Linked DNA regions of Homo sapiens: regions 2 and 3 are each linked to region 1. The links are contacts of gene promoters, found by promoter capture Hi-C in blood cells and fetal thymus (Javierre and others, 2016). All regions are on one chromosome and are shown on one strand. Each heading gives the region's core, a stretch centred on a gene start or on the middle of the fragment in contact. The rest is flanking DNA. Distances are from core to core; before and after follow the strand shown. Region 1 holds the start of FRMD1 (FERM domain containing 1). Region 2 has its middle 120 kb from the start of TTLL2. Region 3 overlaps LOC105378127 (a long non-coding RNA gene).

Evidence for each region. The method cuts DNA at HindIII sites, captures the fragments that hold promoters and counts their contacts. A CHiCAGO score of 5 or more calls a contact.
Region 2: a contact is called between a fragment that was not itself captured here and the fragment with the promoter of FRMD1 in region 1, in 1 of 17 cell types (monocytes). The highest score is 5.1, in monocytes.
Region 3: a contact is called between a fragment that was not itself captured here and the fragment with the promoter of FRMD1 in region 1, in 2 of 17 cell types (M0 macrophages and M1 macrophages). The highest score is 6.5, in M0 macrophages.

The regions. Positions count from the first base shown.
Region 1 is chr6:168,077,463-168,081,824 of GRCh38, reverse strand. It overlaps FRMD1 (FERM domain containing 1), which reads left to right and starts at 2,613. Exons shown (of 11, transcript NM_024919.6): 1 at 2,613-2,943. The coding sequence starts at 2,731. RefSeq lists an enhancer at 2,901-3,622. The HindIII fragment of the contact is 11,905 bases long and covers 238-4,362 here.
Region 2 is chr6:167,441,375-167,445,736 of GRCh38, reverse strand. No RefSeq gene overlaps it. Among named protein-coding and RNA genes, the nearest start is that of TTLL2, 120 kb to the right of the region's middle. RefSeq lists enhancers at 2,204-3,073, 3,074-3,942. The HindIII fragment of the contact is 3,369 bases long and covers 251-3,619 here.
Region 3 is chr6:167,464,174-167,468,535 of GRCh38, reverse strand. All of the region lies in intron 1 of LOC105378127 (a long non-coding RNA gene), which reads left to right. Among named protein-coding and RNA genes, the nearest start is that of TTLL2, 140 kb to the right of the region's middle. The HindIII fragment of the contact is 184 bases long and covers 2,397-2,580 here.

The DNA.
Region 1 (4,362 bases), core at 1,364-3,863:
CACCCCCAGAGGACACCTCGCCCCTCTGCAGTCCCTGCTGCCAGCTCCCTGGCCCCGAAGATGCTGCCTTTGCTGGATGTCTCGGAATGGAGCCCGGCCTTTTGCATCCAGCTTCTCCCTTGCAGTGGGATGTTTAGTCCTGTGCCTGTGTCAGTTCTGCCTTCCTTCTCACCACGGAACAGCATTCCCACATTGTTTTCCAAAACCTGTGCTTTGTGGACCTAGAGCTCCGAAGCTTGAGTTCTAGAATGTTCTCAGCAGGCCTCTATCTATCTCATGATAGAGGATGGAAACCAGCCGTCCAGAAGAAGAGAGAGTTGGGCCGAGGAGGACTCCAGGGCTCAGCCATGAGGAGATCTGGGCGGTGGTCTCCTCTTCCTCGCGGCCTCTGCCCGTCCACTGCCCGGCCCTGACATCACGAACGTGGCAGGCCAGCCTCTTCCATCACGAACAGGCCAGTCGAGAAGACAAGACATTCAGAGGTGGGGTCAGTGTTGGGGCCCGGTCACGCCTCTGCCTTCTCAGGGTGCAAAGTTGTCTTCTTGATGAGCTGAGGACAGAGGTTCTGGTGTCCCCTCAGTGCCCTGGCGGGAGGTACTCATGGCGACCACCCTTGCCTTGGAGCCTCAGCACGTTTTCAGGAAAAAGCCGCGCTCTCCCAGGAATACAACGGGGGCTTCCCAAGCCCAGCTCTCCCTGGCACTCAGATGGACGGCGGCCTTCACTGGAGGTCTGAACCTCAACGGTGTGGCCCTGAGACTCTGGGTGGGAAGGAAGGAGCTGGGGCCAGGGACGTCCTGCTTTGACAAGAATCCATTTATTGTGTTTATCAATACAAATGTGGAGTTTCCATTCCTTTTCCTTTTCTTCTCACTAATGATGTTTGGAGCTCATTGGCCCACGGTCACCTGTACACACCAGCGCCCACACACACCAGCGCCCACACACACCAGCACCCGCACACACCAGCGCCCACACACACCAGCGCCCGCACAAACCAGCGCCCGCACACACCAGCACCTGCACACACGTGGGGAACCATCGCTTTGATCATTAGTGCACCCAGCACAACTCCCCACCGTGTCCCCGGCTCTCCCCACCGAGGGGTCCTGGTGCCTGTTGTCCCCTCTGTGCTGTGTGTGCCGGTGGTGTTCTGCCACCCCCCAACCCTGGCCCCTGCCTGCCCTCTGCCACTGTCCTGCGCCCAGGCATCCTGAGAGGTGCAGCTGCTGCCGCCCTTCCTGATACGCCGGCACTGTGACTCCAGGCAGCGGCTGAGGGCACCCGGCACAGGGACGAGCTGCTCAGGCGCCAGTGGCACAGGGCCATGAGGATCCAGCCTCTGCTCTCTGGGGCTGTTTTTTTTTGTGGTTTTTTTGCCATTTTTAAAACTTTTTGTGCTCTCAGCTAAAGGGATCCCCACATCTTCCATAGTGAACAGCTCTACGTTTGCTGTGGAGAGAAAAGAGACCGCCACTGCTGTCTTGGGCACACATGTGTGGCCTCGAGGGTCTGGGAAGGGTCTGGATCTGAGCGGAGGGAGGGAGGGAGGGAGCCAGTGTCAGTCCAGGGTCCGGGGGAGGTGAGGCCTAAGCCTCCTAAATCTTCTCAACCCACCGGGCCGGGCCTTAGGGCGGCTGGAGTGCGAATTTCCTAAACCCACCGGGCCAGGCCTTAAGGCGGCTGGAGTGCGAATTTCCTAAGATGAACAACGGCCCGTCCGGAGGTCCAGACCCCTTACTAGAGGAAGGTCCCAGAGCATCCCAGACTCCATGGCAGGAAACTGATGGAGCTCACGGCTGAGGACAGAATTCCACAGCCCAGGCCCGTGGGAACTGCCTCTCCTGACCTGCAGCGCCCAAAGGTCTGGGTGGTCCCAGGGCCAGGCAGGATCCTGGGGTCCCTTCCCCACCTAACACTGTGCCAAAGAGCTCGAAGGCGTTGCTCATCTCTGCTGAGCGGCCTCAGGGGTTCCAGGCCCTGCGGGAGATGTCCCCACCCCTCGTGCTGATGCACCCGGCTGCTGTCCACGCAAGCCAGGACCCCCTTCCTGGCCTTCCAGCTGCTGCAGGCAGGAAGGGATTTGCTGGCCCTGGACAAGGAAGGAAGTGTCCTCAGTTTCCAGCCCCTAAAGGGAGCCAGGGTCCCTCCTGGCAGAACCTGTCCAGGAACGGCAGCTGTGCTGCTTCCTGAGGTCGATAACAGATGCCACAGGAGGTGTGTGGGGCAGGGTGCCCACCCAGGCTGCCTTCCTCCCGCCCTCCTCGTCCTGCCCTGCTGCTGCTCCATCTTCCCCAGCAGCCCTGGCTCTGGCATCTGTGCCCATGGGGTTTGCATAGCCCTCTCCACATTATAGAAGAAGGAGCAGGCACCCTGAGGAGATAGGGGTTGTCAGGTGGAGGAGTTGGGTCCTGTCTCCCCCAGCCTGGTTCTCACGGGGCCCACACCGAGGCTGGCTGCTGAGCTACCCTGCATGGGAGTGCTGCATGGCGGGTGCCCAGCCTGAGGTTGTTTATTTGCATTCCTGGCGCCCTCCACACACCCAGCTATTTGCAGCTCTGACCCTTGTCCTGGCTTGGCCATGCTGGATTCCCAGCCCAGGCTTCCCTCTCAATTCCCTTCCCAGTGAGAAGCTCGGCAAGGGCGGGTCCCGGAAAGCACAGCTGTGATCTGGGAGGTGCTGAGCACCCACCTGCGACCCATGGCGGGGGAGGGCCGAGTAACGACAGCATGGCGGTGCCCCCGAGAGGGAGGGGCATAGACCCCGCCCGGACAAACCCTGACACGTTCCCTCCTTCAGGGGCGCGATGTATGGAACCCAGTCCTGAGAGGCCTGCATGCAGTCAGCAGGAGCCGACCCTGGGAATGGACGCGATGGCCTCGGAACACAGGGATGTCCTCGTGCTGCTGCCCAGCCGGGAGCAACTGCGGCTGGCCGTGGGGGTGAGCAGGGCCCTGGGTGGCCGTGGGGGTAAACAGAGCTGTGGGGGTGAGCAGGGCTCCGGGTGGCCGTGGGGGTGAGCAGGGCCCTGGGTGGCCGTGGGGGTGAGCAGGGCCCTGGATGGCCTTGGGAGTAAACAGAGCCATGGGGGTGAGGAGGGCCCTGGGTGGCCATAGGGGTGAGCAGGGCTGTGGGGGTGAGCAGAGCCATGGGGGTGAGCAGGGCCCTGGGTGGCCGTGGGGGTGAGCAAGGCTGTGGGGGTGAGCAGGGCCGTGAGGGTGAGCAGAGCCGTGGGGGTGAGCAGGGCTGTGAGGGTGAGCAGAGCCGTGGGGGTGAGCAGGGCCGTGGGGGTGAGCAGGGGTATGGGGTGAGCAGAGCCTCAGGACACAGCCTGTGTATGGAAAGTCCCTGGACCGCCTCACTCTGCTTAGGCCAGGTGTCTGTGAGGTGTCAAGGGCCAGCCCTTTCACTGGGCCTGTGAAGGAAACATCCCTGATAGACGTTGCTGTGAGAAATAAGTTTATGGTTCAGCACATCCTTCCCGGGAGGGAGCGCTGAGGGAAGAGCGCCAGGAAGCCGGTTTCCAAGGAGCAGCTCCTGTCTTGTGTTCAGACGTCACCATCTCTATGCTTCTCTATTTCCTTTTCTTTTCCCTTTCCCCCATTTTGTCTACCTGTTTTAGTTGAGTTCATGGCGACAGGAGTTGAGATGGTACTTTCATTTTAATGATTAATGTGGATAATGAAAATGTGGCAATTAAAATGAGAGTGGTTTGTTGAAGAACGATGACTTTCTGCATAGCTAATGTATCATTGCTACCTGGAATGGAGTATGACTTGCTAGTAATATCCTGGTTCAAGTCCCCTGGGAATCTGGGAGTCTCTTGTCTGCTTCGGGATAGAGTTCTGTGTTTACGTAAACGCCCACATCTATGTTTGTGGCAAAATCTTCCCCAAGACTCTGTGTCCCCACCCAGCAACGAGAAGCTGGAGTTGAGCTAATGGGGGATGTCCTGTAGTTTCCTGGGGTCCCCAGCAGTGCCTCGGGCTGGGGGAGGGGTCATAAGAGGACCTGTTGTGGGGAAGATGCTGGGGCTTTGGCCCCCTACCCCATAAGAGCTGGAACTTTTAGGTTTCTTGCACGGAACTTCACGGTAAGATTTTAACTGAGGGATCATGCAGCTAGAACATAGTGAACCGCCTGTTCTGAACAGGTGAATCGTGCTCATCTGCTTTTGACGGAGCTCCCTGAAGTGCCTCTGCAACTCCTGTGGCCCCTGCTGGGCCTGGCAAGTTGGCAACCACAGAGCCACTTCCTATCGGGGTGTGCGCACATCTGTGTCTGCAGTTGGACAGGAACCCCTCACTGGGTTGTGCAGTCATCTATGTCTGCAGTTAGACAGGAACCCCCCCACAGGGTGT
Region 2 (4,362 bases), core at 686-3,185, 640 kb after region 1:
ATCTGTCTTCAAAACCAGCCATGGTTTCTGCCACTGTGAGTCTGAGCCTGGGAGGAGATGGGCCTTCACCGAATCACGCAGGTGGAGACACGCTGGGTGCTGGGGACGGTGGGGCTGGTGCAGCAGGGAGCCCCTGCAGGAATCAAGTTCTGGTGAGATCTGCATGAGAAGATGAGGGGCTTCCCAGAGAGGGGAGATGGGACCCAGTAACTGTGATAAAGAGCAGCATCTCCGGACCCTGAGGCAAGCTTATCTGGGCAAAAAGCACCCGCAAACTTAAAGGGAAAATGATTTTCCATATGCAGGTAGGATAAAACCTTTGGCCTCACAAAGGGAGATGGAAGCTATCTGGGTATGGCTGAAGTAGACAGGGCAAGCCCTGCTCCCCACTTTGCAGAAAACCTAAGAGAATTCCTGCAAGAAGTAGAGACCATGGCCTCTCCTAGTGTCTGTTGCTCTCAGCAAATACCCCATGAAATTGAAGAGCTGAATTCTTAAATAGGTCCATGAAGAATCAAGATAAACTCATTAGCAGTAGATTTACAAGGAGCTGAGCTATGAGTGACAGCTGGAAATTGCCTGGTAGGTGCCAGGCTCCTTGCATTGATGCTGTAGGACACAAACTTGTCATTTCTTGTGGGGAGTTTGACAGCAGAGCACTGAGTTGACTCCAGGTGGAGTTCATGATGCCCTGTGGGCGCTGGTGTCACTAACTCCCTGCTATCCCATGGATGTCTTTCTCCTTGTGTACACTTGAGACTCAGCTGACCCCCTGGGTCTGCTCATAGAAGAGACCAGAATGTTCACTCGTTTAACCAACACTGCTGCTGAGAGTTGGGGAGCGTGCAGAGCCCACTGCAGAATTGGTGGTTTCTTCCGAAGGTCAGGAGGTTAGCAGAAGGTGGGAGCGGGCTTGGTAAGGTAACAAAGTCTGGAAGCTGAGTGACACCAAGTGGTCATAACTTTTTGGCGTGACCACTATTACCGGAGTGTTTGCTGTGTGCCAGGCTGGGTAAGTAATGGCAGGCAAGACGGGCATAGCCTACGTCCTTGTAGGCCTCACAGTTTAGCAAGACATTTATAAACAGTCTGAAATTGCCAGAAGGCTCAAGGTAGCTTATCTATATGACATTATTTCTTTGTTCATTCTATAGACCAGAGGTCCATGGGTTGTTGACAGAACCTCAAACCCTTTCCCCTGCAATGGAAAGCTATTTTTCAGATTATGATAATTATCTACCTGTGTCACAAAAAATATCAAATTGATATGGACAGGAGGCAGGGAAATACTGGGCAGAAGAGGGCAGTTCCCTGGCAAGTCACCACCCTCAAGCCTGGAAACCATAGCCCTAAATGAGAACAGTTATCCCTGTTTTCTTGCCCAAATGTTACCTTTTGGCCCACCCCACCCCCTATCCTGTGCCTATATAAACCCCAGGCCTCAGCTGGCAAAGAGACAAGTGGCTGAACGTTGAGAGAAGAAGCAGCTGAGCATCAGAGACTATGGATAGATGTGGCTTAACTTCAGACGGCACAGCTTCAGAGAGGAGCCTGGCTGCAGATGGCCGGGCTTCAGGGAAAGATAACCTTCTCCCTGCTCCATCCCACTTCCAGCTCCCCTTCTGCTGAGAGCCACTTCCACCACTTAATAAAATCCTCTGCATTCATCACCTTTCAAACCATTTGTGTGGCCCGATTCTTCCTGGACGCTGGACAAGAATTCAGCATGCACTGGATGTGGGAACCCATAAAGGCTGTCACACTGACTCTTCACTGAGCTGTTTAACACTTAAGCCATCTGTGGACGGCAAAGCTAAAAGAGCATTAATTGTAATGCAACCCTAGATGCTGCTGTGGGTCTGGAGCCCAAAAGCCCTTGCCAGGGTCCCAGCACCCACTCGCCTATGTGCTCCCTCCCATGAGGGGTTGAGTCCAGCAGGTTCAAGTGATTGAAGTTCGTCCCTGCTAGTGCTGAAGTGGCCAACTGGACCCAGAGGTGCACTCCAGTTCCTACCCATGAAAGAGTCAAGGAATTATCCCATCTCATAAGTGCCGTAAAATACACAATCCTTATATATTTCCTAAGTCACATATATGAAAGACTGCTTCCCTTCGCCTCCTCCTGTGCCCTCTAAACTCAGTTAGGGGATCCATCTATGAGCACCACCTTCTCCGGCTCCTTATGGATTTTAATTGCAATTGCTTCCCTCACCCTTCATCTTCCCCACCCACTCTGCCTTGACACTCCTGTACCGAGGCAAAGTGTTCTGGGCCAGGCAGGAAATAATTCATTCGTTCTGTATCTCAAAGCCACACGAATCCAAAGCATGACTTGTTTTTCAACATCCCTTTCTTGTCTGTCAAGAATGGCTGTGCATTTTGAAACAGAGGCTGTCTCGGGAGGGAACGCAGACCTTCAGGGCGGAATCCTGAATCTGGATCTGCAGCAACAACACAGAGAATAAAGCCAGGGGGACCTCCACCCACCCGGGGGTGAGATAGAGGCACAGCTGACAGACACAATGGCTCAATGACTTTTATTTGAATTTCAGCAATTTAACAACCTCCAAAAGGAAGCCAGTGAATACTGAACTTTTTACCTCCTCAAAGTGTATTTCCAATTGTTGTCTATATTGTCCCATGTTGTTGTTTAGTAGTGTGTCCAAATGCTTGTGTCACATTTTTCTCCATGTACTCTGCGTACAGTTTTCGTATTTTTGAAGGAAACTGCCTCCTTGTCAGTTTCAATGATTGTAGTGCTTTCATCATCCATAGCTGGCTAAACCGCAGTGACTTGGGGTTTTAAAATTAAGTCCATCATCCAACAAACATTTTGAGAAAAGGAAGACAGAAGAGGATCCCCATCCTTGAAGGCCTGGCCTCTGCTGCGGGACCCCCTCCCCCGACCCCGGCTGAATTTTTCAGGCCAGATGGTCCTTTTCTGCATCTTTTTTACCATTGTCAGCCATGAAATTTTGTAGGATGGCCTCTCTACTTATCTTTTTAAAACACCTTTTTGTTACATCAAATTCATCTTCTGTGGTATCTCATTTTCTTCAGATTTTCTGTTGCCTAGGAAGTTAAATAGGGGATTGTTTCAGGAAACGTGAGTAGATGTGGGCTGCTGTGTTCTCTGTAAGCCCTTGCCAGGTGGAAGGAGGGGCTGCTTTTCATCTGACAAGAATTTCTGCAGCAGCAGGGCAGGCTCATTAAGATTTTTCCCATGCCACATAACAAAAGATGGCTGGGGAATAACAAAAGTGAGATTCTGGAGTGTGTGTTTCTTTGTCATGCACGCCCCAAGCCTTGCTGAATCTCCCAGGCTGGGGCAGGCATCGTTAGGAGCAGCTGATTAAGTTTATTGTGCTTTCAATTAAAGAAAAGGGTGGCCCCGGGAGGAGAGGGAGTTGAGAGAGATACGAGGTTGGTCTCATTCGAAACACCCCGTGTCCTTAGTATTTACATAATGCAGAGTTAAGATTTTCTTAGATTGTCAAGGACAGAATCGAATCTCTCAGAACAGCACTGTGAATGGAAGTGGCATGCCTTTAATTCATAAAATGTCACCCTCTTGAAATAGTCCTTAGTATACGCAAATCAGAAAGTAGTCAGGAAAGCTTTTCAGCCCTGCGTGGTAACACGACCTTACATTTCCACAGAACCTTGCTTTGCATCTGTTGTTAACTCTCATTATCTTAGGGGATCCTTTCAGTATTTTGTCCAGTTTCCTGGGTTTGTAAATAGAAGCTGTGGCTTGCATAAGGTCAGGCAGCCGCTTTTAGGAATTGAGTCAGGCCTCATTTTTTTCACATTGTTCTTCAACCAGCTTTCCACTTCAGCTCCCGACTTCCCCAGCTGGAGAGAGGCAGGGCTCTGTGCTGCTCTGCTGTGCTGTTGGAGGGGTTTTTCCTGTCGATCTTATCCAACCTGTGTGATGAGCGAGCAGGCACCCTGTTCTGGAGGCAAACAGAAGAAAAGGCGGGAAGAAAAGGCCGTTTTTGGAATTCTGTGCTAATTACAACGTCAGGTAAAAGCAGAGTTGTTTTCGTTTTTAATTCTTATAATTCAGTAGGAGGCAACTTTGTGTTTTTCTTCGGTTTTTTTTTTTTTTTTTTTTTTTTTTTTAGGTGGAGTCTTGTTCTTTTGCCCAGGCTGGAGTGCAGTGGTGCTGTCTCAGCTCACTGCAACCTCTGCCTCCCAGGTTCAAGCACTTCTCCTGCCTCAGCTTCCCAAGTATCTGGGATTACAGGCATGAGCCACCATGCCCAGCTAATTTTTGTATTTTTAGTAGAGACAGGGTTTCTCCATGTTAGCCAGGTTGGTCTCAAACTCCTGACCTCAAGCGATCCACCTGCCTTGGCC
Region 3 (4,362 bases), core at 1,239-3,738, 610 kb after region 1:
GCTGAGAAATGTGTCACTGTGTCTCGACGTCATGGTCACACGGACCCGGTGAAGGCTGAGAAACGCATAGCAGTGTCTCGACATCATGGTCACACGGACTACACGGACTCGGTTAAGGCTGAGAAATGTGTCCCAGCGTCTCGACGTCATGGTCACACGGACCCGGTGAAGGCTGAGAAATGTGTCACAGCATCTCGACATCATGGTCACATAGACTCGGTGAAGGCTGAGAAATGTGTCCCAGCGTCTCGACGTCACGGTCACACGGACCCGGTGAAGGCTGAAAAATGTGTCACAGTGTCTTGACGTCATGGTCACACAGACTCGGTGAAGGCTAAGAAATGTGTCCCAGCGTCTCGATGTCACGGTCACACGGACCCGGTGAAGGCTGAGAAATGTGTCCCAGCGTCTCGACGTCATGGTCACACGGACCCGGTGAAGGCTGAGAAATGTGTCGCAGCGTCTCAATGACATGGTCACACGGAGTCAGTGAAGGCTGAGAAATGTGTCGCAGTGTCTCGACGTCACGATCTCATGGAGTTGGTGAAGGCTGAGAAACATGTGGCAGCATCTCGACATCATGATCACAGAGACTCGGTGAAGGCTGAGAAATGTGTCGCAGTGTCTCTACGTGGTGCAGGAATGACAGAGTTTCGGATCAGAGGGGTGTGGGATCCACCACATTGCAGTTTATAGTCGTGCTTGTCAAATGCTTATTTCTACTTTAGCTGTTTAAAACATGAAACAAAATGATTTTGAATTTTTTGTGTGTGGTATTTTTCCTAAATAGATTGAATCTTAGATTTAGATTGTGATTACTGAGTAATGTGGAGAAGGAATTATGGGTGTTGTCTAAAATCTTGTGAGTCTAAGGCAAAGTGAAATAGAAAAGTGAATTATTACACATCAAACAAATAACATTTATTGATGACTTGGTTTGTAAGCACAAATCTAGGAAGTATATGTGGGAGGTATTTTAAAACCCGAGGTGGGAATAAATCCTTAGAGGAAAATGAGCACACGTAGAATGAGGGAGCACGGGGAGCATCAGAGCTTCACTCTGTGCTCCCGATCCAAGCACACGGGGAGGCGTGAAGACTCCAGGTGTTGGAAGGGTTTCTCTAAGGGAAATTAATCGAACCCATAGGGGAAGGCAAAGGTACTGTTTCGATAATGACTAGACTAACAAAATATGGTTACAGGAAATATTTAACGCCCAAAAATAAAACCTAAACTGGTTTCTGAGGCTGTTCTATTGTGCTGTGGCGTTCAGACCAGACCTGGAACTACTTTCAGGAGAGACCGTCAGGGGTTGTAGCACTTATAAGGGTGACCCAGGTAGTGGAAGACTGGAGACTAAACATAACCCAAACTAGAGTTATTCTATGATTTAATAATAATAATAAAATTATTAACTAGAACAGCTAACATTTATTGAATATCTACAAAGGGCCAGGCATTTTGTCATGCATTAATTCATTTTGTCTTCAGAATAGGTTATAAATTTGTATTTACAGTGATTGATTAATTAATTTTGGCTTGATAACATATACACATGGTAGAAAATTCAAAAGCTACAAAAGATGTAAAATGAAAAGTGAGCCTGCCGATGCCCTAATGTGAAGGCCCCCATCCCTTCTGGGAAAGTAACTATCAATAATGCTTTACTGCGTTTCCTTCCAGATGTATTTTATATACACTATATATTTATATAAACTATATATTTATATAAATAGGCTCGGCAGATTATTTTTTACTTTATGCTTATCGATAAATCTTTCATTTCCACATAACGGTACTTAATACACTACATCATTCATTTTAATAGTTGCATAGAATTCCATTCTTACAAATGGGCTGTAGTTTATTTAATCATCCCCCTTTCGAGGGACCCTTGGATTGTTGCCAGTCCTCTGCTGTTAACAAGCAACACCTCAGGGAATGATACCATGGTTTCACATGCCTGTGGCTGTCTGTCAGACTCAGCTTCCCAAAACGAGTCCCGCACCTCTCCTGCAAGTAGCTTTCTTTTGCAGCTTCATTCCCAAGTCAGGCAGATTTCCTCCAGGGACATCAACCAAAACCACACCTCACTAGGGCCGAGTGCAGAAGTGGAGCTGGGAATCTGGTTGTCTTCTCCCAGGCCAATTTGTAAAAATGTGAAACAATGCCCTGTTTTCACTAATATTTTTGGAAAATATAACCACTTTTAATGAAAATGTGTTTTATATTGTTATGCAATGGGATTATTATTATTTTATGATATAATACATCTCTTTTAAGTTCATCACTTATAATTTTTAATGTAAATGTCAGTCTATGTAACCCATGTAAACAAAAGTCTTTGGGGCCTCAGTAAGATTTGGAGTATAAAGTGGTGCCAAAACCAAAAAGCTTGAGAATTGCTTCTGTGATTTATAATTTTAGAAGTAGAATTGGTAGGTACAAGTTACGTGCTTTTGTATTTTGGTAGATATTGTCAAATTCCCCTTCCTGTAAACTCTATCAATTTATATTCCCACCAACAATGTATACGGACGCCTGTTTCCTCTAGGCCTGGTCAGCAGCTGTTGTTAAGCTTTTTTGATCGTTGCCTAATTGAGAGTTGAAAATACACCTTTACTGAGTTTAATTTTGTATTTTTCTTATTTTGTATCAGCTTGAGTATGCCTCTGTATGGTTGAGAGCCGATGACATTTTCTTTTTATTAAACAATCTGTTGATGTTCTTTGTGTATTTTCCACCAGGCGATGTGTGTTTCAATGGTCTTTAGGTGCTCAGTGTGAGCCTTCTGCTGTGTGTGCTGGGCACTGTCCTCTCTTACTGGGTCCATGTCTGGACGTCCTGTTCTATTCCAATTGTTTGTGACAACTGGGCAGGAAAGAATTGTCCAGCCATTTGAGTGATTGATTGAACTGGCTGCGTTGCTGAGACATAAACACGTTCTCAGAGGAGTATTTAACAAAGGATTGGGTATTGAAGCAAAGTTCTAGTTCTGTAAAGAAGGTGGAACTTGAGGCACTCTAAAGTTCTTTGAAATACCCTAATATTATCTCAAAGTGTGCCCCTGCATTGCAAAGCAGGCCACATGGAAGAGGGCCTGGATGCTGCTATTGAATTAGAAATTATCCTCCTGCGTAGAAAGTGTTTGGTGCGTACTTTTTTTTTTTTAGAATATTTTATTTTATTTTATTTTTCAGTAACTATTTATTTATTTATTTATTTATTTATTTATTATTATACTTTGGTGCATACTTTTAAGAAAGAGCTTCAAGTGACCTATTGAGCAAGGGGCCAGACTGCAAATGGCTATGAGGTCTTTTTCTGAAAAATCAAAAGTAGAATGTTGCATCTGGAATAAACCTGAGAGTCTTATGTTACACAGAAGAAAACTGCATCCAGAAAGATGAAGGAGCTTGCAAGAGGCCACACAGCATAAGACTGGAGCCAGAGTCTGGATCTCATTCTCACTACCATTCCATGCCCAAAAGGCATATTGATTAATGACTTTAAAAATATTCTGAAACATTCACGCAGCATGGCTTGCTTCTGCTCTGTCGTTTAAATGGTTATTATTTCTTATTTCATTCAGAAATTGCTTTAAGTGTTACTGCCTCTCACTAAAGACAACTGTATAGCTGCCTTTCACAAAGATTAGATGATGCCTGCATTTCCTAACAGAGGTCTGGCCTTTGCTGATACTTTCACAGAAGACAACAGCTAGCAAATAGTTGACCAATGATCACCATTGATCATTCCAGGTTATTCATCAAACACTAGTTGTACTTTTTTTCCCCTTCTTCTTCACATTTTAACATCTTTAGTATAAGGATGTGTCTGGTAATTGATTGTAATTGTGGTTGATCTGAAATCATGATCGACTTTTGCCCGCATGTGTGAGAATGTTTGTAAGAGTGAAATTCAGAACAAGCTCAATGCACAGCCCAGCGACTTGTCATCTAGACTTGTCGCCTAGTGCCACAGCTGGACATCCCAATCTTTGGCTTTCAACTACCCAGTAACTCAGACCATTTGAGGTTGAGGTGATTTTGATTGCTTTCTGGAACCCTCTATTACACCTTCTGTTAAGCTTACAAAGGATCAGCATCCAAATATACAGAATGGGTGTTGGCAGCTTGAAAAAGTCCAGGGGCAACAGTGGAGCCAACTGGCTCTTGGCTGCTCAGAGGCTGATACCGCGTGGGAAGGCGTGAGTGAGGCTGAGTGAGCCGGGACATGACTTAGGAGCAGCGGATGCTGCATTCAAAAAAGTTTTAAAAACATCTTAGCTCTTCATACTGCTTATGTGTTCCTTTTCATTTTTATGCACAAGAGATATAGGATACGAAAACATGACTAAAT